4 separate regions of the Homo sapiens genome follow, and all the other regions are linked to region 3. The links are contacts of gene promoters, found by promoter capture Hi-C in blood cells and fetal thymus (Javierre and others, 2016). All regions are on one chromosome and are shown on one strand. Each heading gives the region's core, a stretch centred on a gene start or on the middle of the fragment in contact. The rest is flanking DNA. Distances are from core to core; before and after follow the strand shown.

Evidence for each region. Contacts are between HindIII fragments. The CHiCAGO score rates a contact against its expected background, and 5 or more counts as called.
Region 1: the fragment with the promoter of HFM1 here is called in contact with the fragment with the promoter of BRDT in region 3 in 1 of 17 cell types (monocytes); the score reaches 5.8 in monocytes.
Region 2: a fragment that was not itself captured here is called in contact with the fragment with the promoter of BRDT in region 3 in 1 of 17 cell types (fetal thymus); the score reaches 5.9 in fetal thymus.
Region 4: a contact is called between a fragment that was not itself captured here and the fragment with the promoter of BRDT in region 3, in 1 of 17 cell types (total B cells). The highest score is 5.6, in total B cells.

What each region holds. Positions count from the first base shown.
Region 1 is chr1:91,403,355-91,406,128 of GRCh38, forward strand. HFM1 (helicase for meiosis 1) reads right to left here and starts at 1,483. Exons shown (of 39, transcript NM_001017975.6): 1 at 1,444-1,483. RefSeq lists a silencer at 1,078-1,457. The HindIII fragment of the contact is 14,376 bases long and covers 1-2,774 here.
Region 2 is chr1:92,637,103-92,639,856 of GRCh38, forward strand. The region is part of intron 13 of EVI5 (ecotropic viral integration site 5); the gene reads right to left. Among named protein-coding and RNA genes, the nearest start is that of EVI5, 150 kb to the right of the region's middle. The HindIII fragment of the contact is 2,003 bases long and covers 459-2,461 here.
Region 3 is chr1:91,948,150-91,951,019 of GRCh38, forward strand. BRDT (bromodomain testis associated) reads left to right here and starts at 1,252. Exons shown (of 19, transcript NM_207189.4): 1 at 1,252-1,533. The HindIII fragment of the contact is 8,652 bases long and covers 1-2,870 here.
Region 4 is chr1:91,266,652-91,269,396 of GRCh38, forward strand. HFM1 (helicase for meiosis 1) reads right to left here. Exons shown (of 39, transcript NM_001017975.6): 35 at 1,094-1,204. Among named protein-coding and RNA genes, the nearest start is that of HFM1, 140 kb to the right of the region's middle. The HindIII fragment of the contact is 3,810 bases long and covers 1-2,745 here.

The DNA.
Region 1 (2,774 bases), core at 233-2,732, 540 kb before region 3:
CAATCTTCAACGTTCAGTTAAAAAATGTGAAATTTTTTTCTAGTTCAGGATTTATGTAAATAAAATCATGAAGGTTCTAAAAGATGATGAATTTGGCACTTTCATTATGTAAATCTTTTTTTAAAAAAGAAACACAGGTCCTAAAAGGGACCTTGCTACAGTTCAGTATGAGTTTGTGATGTGAGGGGATGCTATTTTAAATTAATTAAAGTTCTAGGTTTAGATTCAGATTTTTTAAGTTCCTATTATTTATTATTAAAGTTTTAGTTTCAGCACGTGGCACAAAATTAGATTGCCAAACACAATAAACAATATCATCCCAGGTAGTTTTAAGTGTCTGCTCTGCTATAATCACTGTTAAAATACTTAAGCTATTTTTGAGTCTACATAATTTGCGGTGCCGACCTTCTCTAGTTATATTAATGACAATCTCTAGTTAAATATTAATACAACTAGATACAATTAATCTTTAGTTATATTAATGACAATTCACCATTTTGTCTTCTGTAATCTTTACTTATTGTATAAAATTATTGTATACAATTATTGTATAAACTTATTGTATAAAATTGCAGGCCTATTACTTCTTACAATTTTTACTCAGAAACATACTCCTTATTTTAAAAGTACAGAAACTCAGATAAAAATTATTGATTTGCTAGAAATTTTTGTGAGTTAAGGAAGAAGTAGGGACCAACATTTACGGGAATAACCGACCGTCACAAATAACTGCAGAGAATCTGACAAAGAAGGAAAAATCAACGGGAACAAATTACTCCGAGGCTCGGCCTGGGAAAGGACCATACAATTGTCGGAGCCCCAGATCTCACCCCCTCTCCCCAGGCACCAACAGGGCTGGCTGGAAGGGTCCGGCTGGGGACCGAATCAGCACCTAAAGCAAAATAACAGCTCTGTGGATTTCCTAAGGAGAATATCCTAAATCCAAGGCAGAGGCCTTAGGGCCCCGAGAGTGGCACAAGAACGGGGCGCTGGGGCGCGTCACTCCACCCCCCGGGTCCCGTTTCCTCCCACCGCTGTGAAACCCGCGGCTCAGACAGATGGGTACGTCCCCCCCAGCGCTCGCTCAGGGGGCGCCACACACCGGAACACAAGACACAGGAACCGAACACCAATCAGCCGACTTTAGGGGCGGGCCGGACGCCCAGCCGGTCCCACCTCGCGGGGAGCTGGGCCCGCCCTGCGCCCGAGCGCGCCGCAGGCCTCACCGCTTTCTGACTGGAAATGCGGCTGAGGCGCTGGCGCGGGCCGGCGGCCTGGAGACGCCTGGTGACCAACAACTCGCCGCGCCCGTCCGCTGCCTGCCCGGCAGACGGCTCTAGAGATCGACCGCTGCCCGGACGGCTCGGCTGGGTCCCCACTTCCCCGCGGGCGTCGGGCCCCCGTCCCCACCTTCCCCGCGGGCGTCCGGGCCCCTCTCCTCACCTCCCTGCGGACAGCTCCTAGGCCAGTCGAGCGCCGATTTATCAGCCCCTCTGAGGACCGCCAAGCCTGGCTAAGCCGAGCTCCAAGCAATGGATCGCCCAAGCCCCCAACCTCTCCCTTCCTACCTTTTTTTCTCCGAAAGTTTATAACTGGTTTTGAATATATCTCTTGCAGTTTACTGTGTCTATTCTCTTTAAATACAGCTCCTAATCCTGGGTTCTAAGGGTCTACTAAATGGTACCCTTTCCCTAAGCTAACCTGCTTCTCTACCCCCACAACCACCACTCCACAAACATACCCCAACCTGCCTTTCTCATCAAAGTTAGCCAGGCCTCAGCTCTGGGACTTCCGGTCTCTTCGTACCTAAAAAGTGTTTTACCTATATTATTTATAAAATATCACAGTGGCACTCATGAGGTCGGTATTACTGGGGAACTTGATTCAGAAATAAAGTTAAATTTCAGAAATAAATATTCTAAAACACAATGATATTTAAATGTGTTTAGCCAACATGAATTTATAAAAACAGGGCAATAATGTGTTCTTAGGCTGTAAACATGAACAAACTATAAATTATCCTTTTAAGTTTCTTTAGAATTGTCCTCTGAAGATTTGGCAGGGAATGTTTTGTAGATGATAAAATAGCAACGAATCAATGATGCTTTTCTTACAGAGACATTTATCTTTCCTTTGGAAACCCCCACCTGTGACATCTAGGGCCAACCTACTGCTGTCTGACTGCCCTATTCCTGTTCTCTTTTTTCTTGCAGTTCTACTGTTCATTAGCTATATGACCTTGGAAAAGACCCAACCTTTAAGTCTTAATTCTGCATCCTCAGTGATACTCATAAGCTCTAACTCCTAGATACTGCTGCAAGGGTTAAATAAAATAATATTTGCAGTAGTCCTACCACACAGTAAATGCTCATGAATATTAATTTCTTTCACCTTCTCTGAAATGTAAAATTATTCCAGTAATTGGGTGAGCCAGTTATTTGGATACTGATAAAATAACAAGTCTTTGTCTCTTGGAGAAAATAACATTTTGACTGCATAAACTATTCTTAATAGAAAGGTTGAATTATCATTCCTCTCAAAAATACTGGAGAGGAAAGTTACTTTCCATAGACTGCATAGAGGAAAATAACGAAACAGTGCATTTGTTATAGTGAACCCCTCAATGTGTTGAAATTCATACATTGAATTCTAACCCCCGATGTGATGATATTTGAACGTGGGACTTTTGTGAGGTAATTAACTCAAAAGGGTAGAGCCTTCATGAGTAGGATTGTGCCCTTTTAAGAGGCCAGAGAGTTAGCTCGCTCTTTTCC
Region 2 (2,754 bases), core at 210-2,709, 690 kb after region 3:
CTTCAAAAGATATGCATGGTTTCCCAGCACTTTGGGAGGCCGAGGCGGGTGGATCACTTGAGGCCAGGAGTTCAAGATCAGCCTGGCCAACGTGGTGAAACCCTGTCTCTACTAAAAATACAAAAATTAGCTGGGCATGGTGGCACACGCCTGTAATCCCCGCTACTAGGGAGTGTGAGGCAGGAGAATGGCTTGAGCCCGGGAGGTGGAGGTTGCAGTAAGCCAAGATCATGCCACTGTACTCCAGCCCAGGTGACAGAGCAAGACTCTTGTCTCAAGAAAAAAAAAAAAAAAAGATATACATAGAAATAATTGCTGGAAGTAGAGAAGACGCAGATGCTGCACAAAGAAATTAACCACGGAAGCACGCAACTTTCCCATTTGCTTTCCTACTCTATAAAACATGAATATTGATGCAAACACTTAAGTCGTCATTTTTAAGCCAGTGCCCATAGAAAAGCTTCTGTACAAAAGCAATATGTAATTCATCATTATAAAATACTTTCTAAAATAAATTGTCTATCACTTCACATTTAATTTATGTAGTAAAGAAAATGTGGCAACTCAAAATTTCAAAATAAAGTCATAAAAAACAATCTTCTACTGAACTAGCATGAATAAAGCACAGTTATTTTTACTCTTTAATATGTTAGGAACAAAACAGATGTCAAATCAAAACTATTAAAAATAACCAGATGCTTAATACATGGTACTCTCCTGCCCCAGTTACCAAAAAAAGATGTGCAAATGAGGACTTTAATTCAATGCATTATACATTATTTCTTCTAGTAATTTTGATACTATTGAAACAATATTTCAATACGAGAAGTGCATCTGCAACAGACACATCATCTTAGCAAATACTTACCTTTTATCAATTAGGAAAAAGGCATTCTTTTGGAATGACCACATCCAAACTAGATGTGCCATAATTTATTTAATTAGATCACAGTTATTTCGTGGGTACTGGAAGAATTTTTTTGCCCTCAACTTAAAGCCCTGGCAACTGTAGCACAGGTTTGTTTGCAAAGACTTTATATTAGAAGATCCCCAAGAAAACATCAAACTCAAAGGCCCATATGAGAATGGAATTCTTGATTGGCATAAACCAACTAATCCAATCAAGTACAAAAAGCTATAGTAATGTTGGGCACAAATCTTTATTAATAAAATTTACAGAGAGCTGAAATGCTCTGATAACAAGTCATTCTGGATAATATATATCTTATGCTTTTTATACTCTAAAACATATTATTTTAGTCTTCTGGATTAAAATAACTCTAAACGTATTATGTAAATTTTTTTGCCACTGACAGAGTTTACAGAATATAATTCCCAGGTCATCATGATGGTGGCCAATTAACATACTGCAAATTACACAGTGTCTAAGGAAAAGATGCTGCTGTGAACTATAAATTACCTGAAGCTAACCACTGTAGTTTCAATTTATTCTATTTTCCACAGGGGGAAAACAGTTTTATAAACATGTTTTAATGTTTGACAGAAATGACAATTATGACAGCAGCTAACATCTACTCACCACTTACTATGTGCCAGACACATGTTAAGCACTTTATATTCTCCTTTAACCTTCACCACAATTACTGTCTTACTAATAAGGAAACTAATAGGGTACACCAAGGTCAAACAGCAGTTGATAGTGCTATTAATTGACAGTTTGTATTACAGAGCCCATGTTCCTCACCTTTAAGCCATATAGGTGTTGAAGAGTTTAATATATTGTTTTAATATATACTGTTCTAAAAATTAATTATATAATATTAAAAAAATCCAAACCTCTAAAAAAAATCTAAGCATATAGATCTCACATAATGTTCTTGTATTAAGAAATTCCTAGAAGAGTGCATTTCATATTCAAGTGAGTAACTTGGACAGACACACAATTTGTTTTACCAAATGACAACTGCCACAATTATGATGGCTGGCAGTCTCAGCAAGGGGAGCCGTTTATTTAAAAGCATAGAAATGACAGATGACTTCTCTATACTTACATCAAGTTAATTTATGTAAATGAATCTCATAATGTTTCTGTGATACCAGCAATCCCATTCCAATGAAACTGACAGAAATTCTTTTTAGTAAGCAGAGTCTGCTTTTCAATCCTATGTGCTTTTCTGGTGTTGCAAAAATTACAAAGGTAAAGGTAAGTTAGAAAGTCCTCAGTAATCCTTTTTGCTTGTGTCTTGAGCTTAAAAAAAAATCTTCAATATTTGAAGGAAATAGGAGTAATACAGTAAAAAGTAAATATTTGTATTGGGGGAAGTTTCTCATATTATTAAAAAAAATTTCAATATTTGAAGGAAATAGGAGTAATACAGTAAAAAGTAAATATTTGTATTGGGGGAAGTTTCTCATATTATTAAGTGAAAAAAAATTGAAATTAGAAAAAGGGTTGTCCATGCAAATGTATCCAATATTGCTTGAATTTAAGTATACATTAAGCTTTTAACTAAGTTCAAGATATGACATTTATATGCTCTTTTCAGGAACCCAAACATTTCATGGAACCCTGTTCTCATCTCTTTTGTAACACTTATCACAACTCTAAATAAAAAATTGTGCATGCTGCCCAAAGTAATTATAGATTCAATGCTATTCCCATCAAACTACCATTGACATTCTTCACAGAATTAGAAAAAAACTACTTTAAATTTCATATGGAACCAAAGAAGAGCCTGTATAGCCAAGACAATCCTAAGCAAAAAGAACAAAGCTGGAGGCATCACGCTACCT
Region 3 (2,870 bases), core at 2-2,501:
ATCTCAAAAAAATCACTCAATCTTCTTTACCTAGAGTGTACATGTCTCCCTGCCACTAATTCTCAAGAGGAAGGTCAAAAAGTTGATAGTTGGGGCAAAATTTGTACTGAGTCATTCCTCTCTTTCATTTCCCTTGACTTCTTTCAGATTTTTCATGATGTGAGAGTCACACCCTAAGTCTGTACCCATCTACTCTTTTCCTGAACAATAAGATAATCTCTATATCTAATCTCTAATCTATTAGAGTTTCACGTTGTTGCTCTGGCTGGCCTTGAAACCTTGGGATTAAGTGAGCCTTCCGCTTTAACCTCCCCAGTAACGGGCATTGCAGGCGCCTGCAGCCACACCATTAATACTACTTTAAACAGCAAAAACAAGAACACGAAAATTAAATCTAAACAAAAAGTGCTTGCCAATCCAGGTATTTATGTGACGTCTAGTAAGTAGATCAAGTGCGTTGCTTTCTTGTGAACACTTGGTTCTTTCCTGCCACATCAAAGTGATTGAATTAAGACGTGTCAAGCTGTTAATGGCCCCCAGACTTCCGCTTCAGGAAACTGGAGATCGATGGTTTTTTGGCCGGATTTGCGAGCAGCTTGTCAGCTGTTTTTGCCCTCCCCTTCCCATCCATCCACTGCGAATGAGTATTAGGAATTCAGAAGCGTTGTTTGCTATTTGATCCTAAGGGAAACTACTGTACTAAATATATTCTTCTGATACATGTTAGCACCTCTAAAGTATCTGCAAACCATCAAGAGGTAGTTGCGAAGACTCAAAATCCTAAATCACGCACTCATCAGTACGCAGCTGTTGCGAAACAGCTCTTAAATTGCCACTTTAAACCCAAAGAGAGTATGTCTCTAGCCTCAGCTGCTACCTAATATTGATCAAGCACTCACTACGTGCAAGAGACAGGAACTGTGGAGAAGGCTGGGGAAAAAAGCGTGAAAACCACGAAAACATCAGAAGCCAAAACTCAAGAACCTCTACTAGGCTAACTGATTAGTGAAAACGTCGTGTTAACAGCAAACGCCTTGAGTGTAGCGCTCCTACTCCTAACCCCCGGCTCTCTACACGGCAATCACCCGAACCCACTCTGCCTGCCCTAACAGGCCTGAGCTGCCCGGCTCAGACTCCTACACCTTTTTTGCACCGCCCGGGGCTGGGTGTGGTCACGTGACAGGTTCAGACCAATGGGCAGGCCGCCCGCGGGGGGTCTTCTATAAAAGCGCCTGTCGCGCGACCGCCATTACAACAAAAACTGGCGGCGAGGAACTGCGGAGAACTGTTGCCCTGCACCGCTTCATTTTGTGCAGCCTGAAAGGGGCAATCACATAAGGTCGGTTTTGTAATATACAGGTAACATACAGGTAATGTACCCTCCACAGGGGGTGCTGCCTTAGGCCGGCCCCGAGGTGCGGCCTTGGGTGGGAACAACCGTTTTTTCCCCCCTCTCCCCTCCCCGACCCCATCAACATCGTGCGACAGTCCGGGCAGTTGAGAAGGCCACCCCGCTTCGTGCCTGCAGCCCAGGTGAGTTGCCAGTCGCTTCCCTTTGGCCTTACCAACTTCAGGCTCGTTGCCCCCAAGGGATCTTTTTCTCTCTCTCCCTCTTTTCCCCTAAATGTCTGGTTTTTCTTCAAGGGAGGGCTGGGAAGGAGGAGGTTGGGGCGAGGGAGTGGGAGGTCCAGTTGTCCAACTGCCTCCTCCCATTTTGAAAAATACTCATGGTCTTTGTAGTTCCTCTTAGGTCTTGGACTGGTGTGGATCGCTGCTGCCTGTACTGTAATTTTGGAAATGCAGGAGAAAGTACGGAGCGTTTAGCTTTAGCTGGCATTTTGTGTTTATTCTGCAAGTGGTCATTTGGGACGGGGAAGTTCGGGTTCTTGCTTCATTTATTTATTCAATTAACTTTATTAAGCCCCTGGAACGTCTGAACCCTCTTTTGGGTACTGCAGGATTGTGGTGGGCTTTACTTCAAGGCGCGCTGGCCTGTATTAAGAATTAAGATAGAGGAGGCCGGGTGCAGTGGCTCGCCCCTGTAATCTCAGCACTTTCGGAGGCCGAGGCAAGTGGATCACCTGAGGTCAGGAGTTCAAGACCAGCCTGGCCAACATAATGAAATGCCCATCTCTACCAAAAATACAAAAATTAGCTGGGTGTGATGGCAGGCGCCTGTAGTCCCAGCTACTCGGGAGGCTGAGGCAGGAGAATCGCTTGAACCCAGGAGGCGGAAGTTGCAGTGCGCCGAGATCACGCCAGTGCACTCCAGCCTGGGCGACAGAGTGAGACTCCGTCTCCCCGCTCCCCCCAAAAAAGAAAGAGGTATGTACAGGGACTTTGGGACTCAAGGGAAAGGCCTGGGTGGATGGGAGGGAATGAGAGAGGCTCTTGGGCAGAAGTGATAACTCGTCTTGATCTTGAGGGACAAATAGAAGTTAGACTAAAAAGTGAGGAGGGAAGTTCAGGTAAAGAGAAGTTTCTCAAAGGCATGGATGTATGTACACCGAGTAGGATGTGACAGTGGATAATTGCTTTTTTTTTTTTTTTTTTTTTTTTAATACAGATAGCTGCTATGGCTGGGCGATCTCAGAGGATCGCCTGAGTCGCTCACGCCTGTAATCCCAGCACTTAGGAGGCCGAGGCGGGTGGATCACCTGAGGTCAGGAGTTTGAGACCAGCCTGGCCGACATGGCGAAACCCCATCTCTACTAAAAATAGAAAAATTAGCCGGGCATGGTGGTGGGTGCCTGTAGTCCTAGCTAGTTGGGAGGCTGAGGCAGGAGAATGGCTTGAACCCAGGAGGAAGTGGATGTGGCAGTGAGCTGAGATCGGGCCACTGCACTCTAGCCTGGATGACAGTGAGACTC
Region 4 (2,745 bases), core at 164-2,663, 680 kb before region 3:
TGGGGGAAAATGGCACTTATTGAGACTGATTTTCCCAGTGACAAAGCTGTGCCGTCTTAGGACTAGGCTACCTCAAAGGATCAGTACACATTGCCTATTAACTTGCAGTACCCAATGACACTTAAGTTTGAGGTAGGGAACAGTAGTTGTCTGGTGATAAACAAAATTGTGCCTAATGACCCCACATCATGGAGATTCTCCTGGCCTATTCTGTGAAGGTGGTCAAATCCTGTTCTTTTCAGAAGCAGTATTAGTTCTCTAGGTAATTCTAAGGGCCCCCAAAACAATAACATTTCAACTTCTAACTGCTTCCCTTTGAAATACTCTTTTAAAAACATGAGGTGGGGTATGGTAAGTGGTATCTATAATTGTGGAAATACCAGTCTGCACTGAGAAGGCTGAGGGACTGATTTATTTCTGTCAGCCCTAATGGGAGACAGTATCTCCATTGCTATCTTGTCACATACTGGCCAAGGTTTTCAATTCTCTGTTTTAGTGAAATAGAGTAAATTTGCCTTTCACTCAAAGAGCTAATAAGCCTCATTATTTTGGGGTTGTATATGATTTAAATAGAATTTCTAGTACAGGAGAAACTAATCTTTCTTTCTTATTTACTTATTTATGTATTAACTTATTTATTTACTTCAAGCTGAAAGTCCATATTTCAACTAGAAATAAAAGTTATTTTCTTTGCAAGCAGATGAATAGTTTTAAAAATGTATTTTTTTGTTCTTCACAAATATTAGCAGACCATTTGTGATCTTAGAATGGAGAACAAAATAGTCTGTTTCATGAGAGAAAATTGAATAAACAATTTGAATTTGACTTTTACAAGAGATAGGAGCAATAGAATAGAAAGTGCTCATTTGCTACATTATCATCATGGAATAACCTTGATCTCTGTTCTTAGGGGGGAAATGTTCTTTGTAGAAGAGTCACATTTTCAGTTTTGCTAAAAATTATAATCTTAACAAACCAAATCTAACTAAACAAGCACACACAACAAAGGCAAAGAAACTTAGTTCCAGGAGCTGAAATGAAAAATATTCAAAGAATTCCTAATGAAATGATTGCATGCTAAGTATGATTTTACCTGATATTTTTGTCTTCTCAGTATCAGTTGAAAAGCTAGTAACTTCTAAGTTTTCATCATCAAAATCATCCCAAACTTCATTTCCCAATTCAAAGTTCACATTCAAAACTTCTGAAAATAGAGAATTGCTTTTATCTGCATCTGTCAAATGTTGGTTTCCAGATATATTAAGATTTCTGTTGAAGAACACTGTTTGAGAGACTTTCTCATTTGAAGTTGTAGAACAGTTACATCTAGAAAAATCTGTTATGTGTATGTATAAAAGACTATAGGTACTTTTTAAACCACAAGCATCGTAGTCTATTGATATATCAAACACATCTTTCAACTACTAAACAGAGTTCTTGAGTAATAGTTTTCAAAGGCATTGTGTCAAGCATTGTTGAATACTGTATTCAGCCAATTCTATTAACTGTATAAAGTTGCACTAAATTTAATTTTCAATACATTTTTTAGGCAATTAATTTTTCCTCTTAATTCCCATATTAGAATAACTCTACTCCAAGATTGGATTATAATAGTTTCTAAAATGGTCTTCCTCCTCCAGATCTTCTCCCTAAAGTTAATTTTCAGTATTGTTATAAAAGGTATTTGTCCAAAATAAATAATATTTATTTTTCTCCTGCTAAAAAATCCTCAGTGTTATTCATTGTTTACAGCCTGGATTTAGAGCCAAATTACATAAGTGAAAATTCCACTTCTCTCATTTATTAGTTGTATGGTCTTAGACAGTAATTCAAACTTCCTGATTCTGCAAAATAAGGCAACAACAGTACCTACCTCAAAAGATTGTTATGAGGCGCTAAATGCCTTTAGTTGTACAGTTTTACACAGTATTGTGCTAATAAATGTTTAATAGCTACCTCTACAAAAAGCGTATGCTTATGTATACACATATAAGTTTATTATAATCTTTGCTGATGTAAAGGCTATACAGCACACGTTTTACAAATAACAACATATATGGTATACTTAAATGTAAATTCCATATATCTAATTGATTCTCATTGAATGTTTTCATTAAGTTTTGCCACTGTTTTATCTGTAGTCAACCTATGGCTGCAAGTGACGAATGTAGCTCTCATGTGAATGTTGTTTGATATTTTTGTTGACTCTAACAAGTAAGATGAAAATATTAATAAAACAACAAAGACATCTGTTGGGATTTCACTCATTCACCATTGACTTAAGCAACTTCTTTCCTGAATTAGATAGTAATTTTCAAATACTAGAAGAATATTCTCTCAATTTTTTGTGTTATTCACAATGTAATGGCTACAATAACAACACACATTTGTTTAATCTACAATATTAAAATTTTATCCTTCACTTTCTTAAGTCTAAAAAATAAGCAAAACAATAAATCAAACCCAGATTGGTAGTATTTGCTGATTCCTATGGTATAAATGTTCCCACCATAACTGATTTCAAGCTATTAATGTGACATAATTGAATAAGAAGTTGGGAAAAAATGCACGACAGAACCCTATAATATAGTATTTCTACCATATGGATAAATAATCTCGAGAACACAGATAAGAGTAAAATGCAGTAGAACAATTAGGAAGTGATGAGTTTTGAGTATTTTTGCCTTTGTTTTTAACATAATTTAATTGAAAGTTTATGTAATTAAATTTTCAATAATGGCTGAA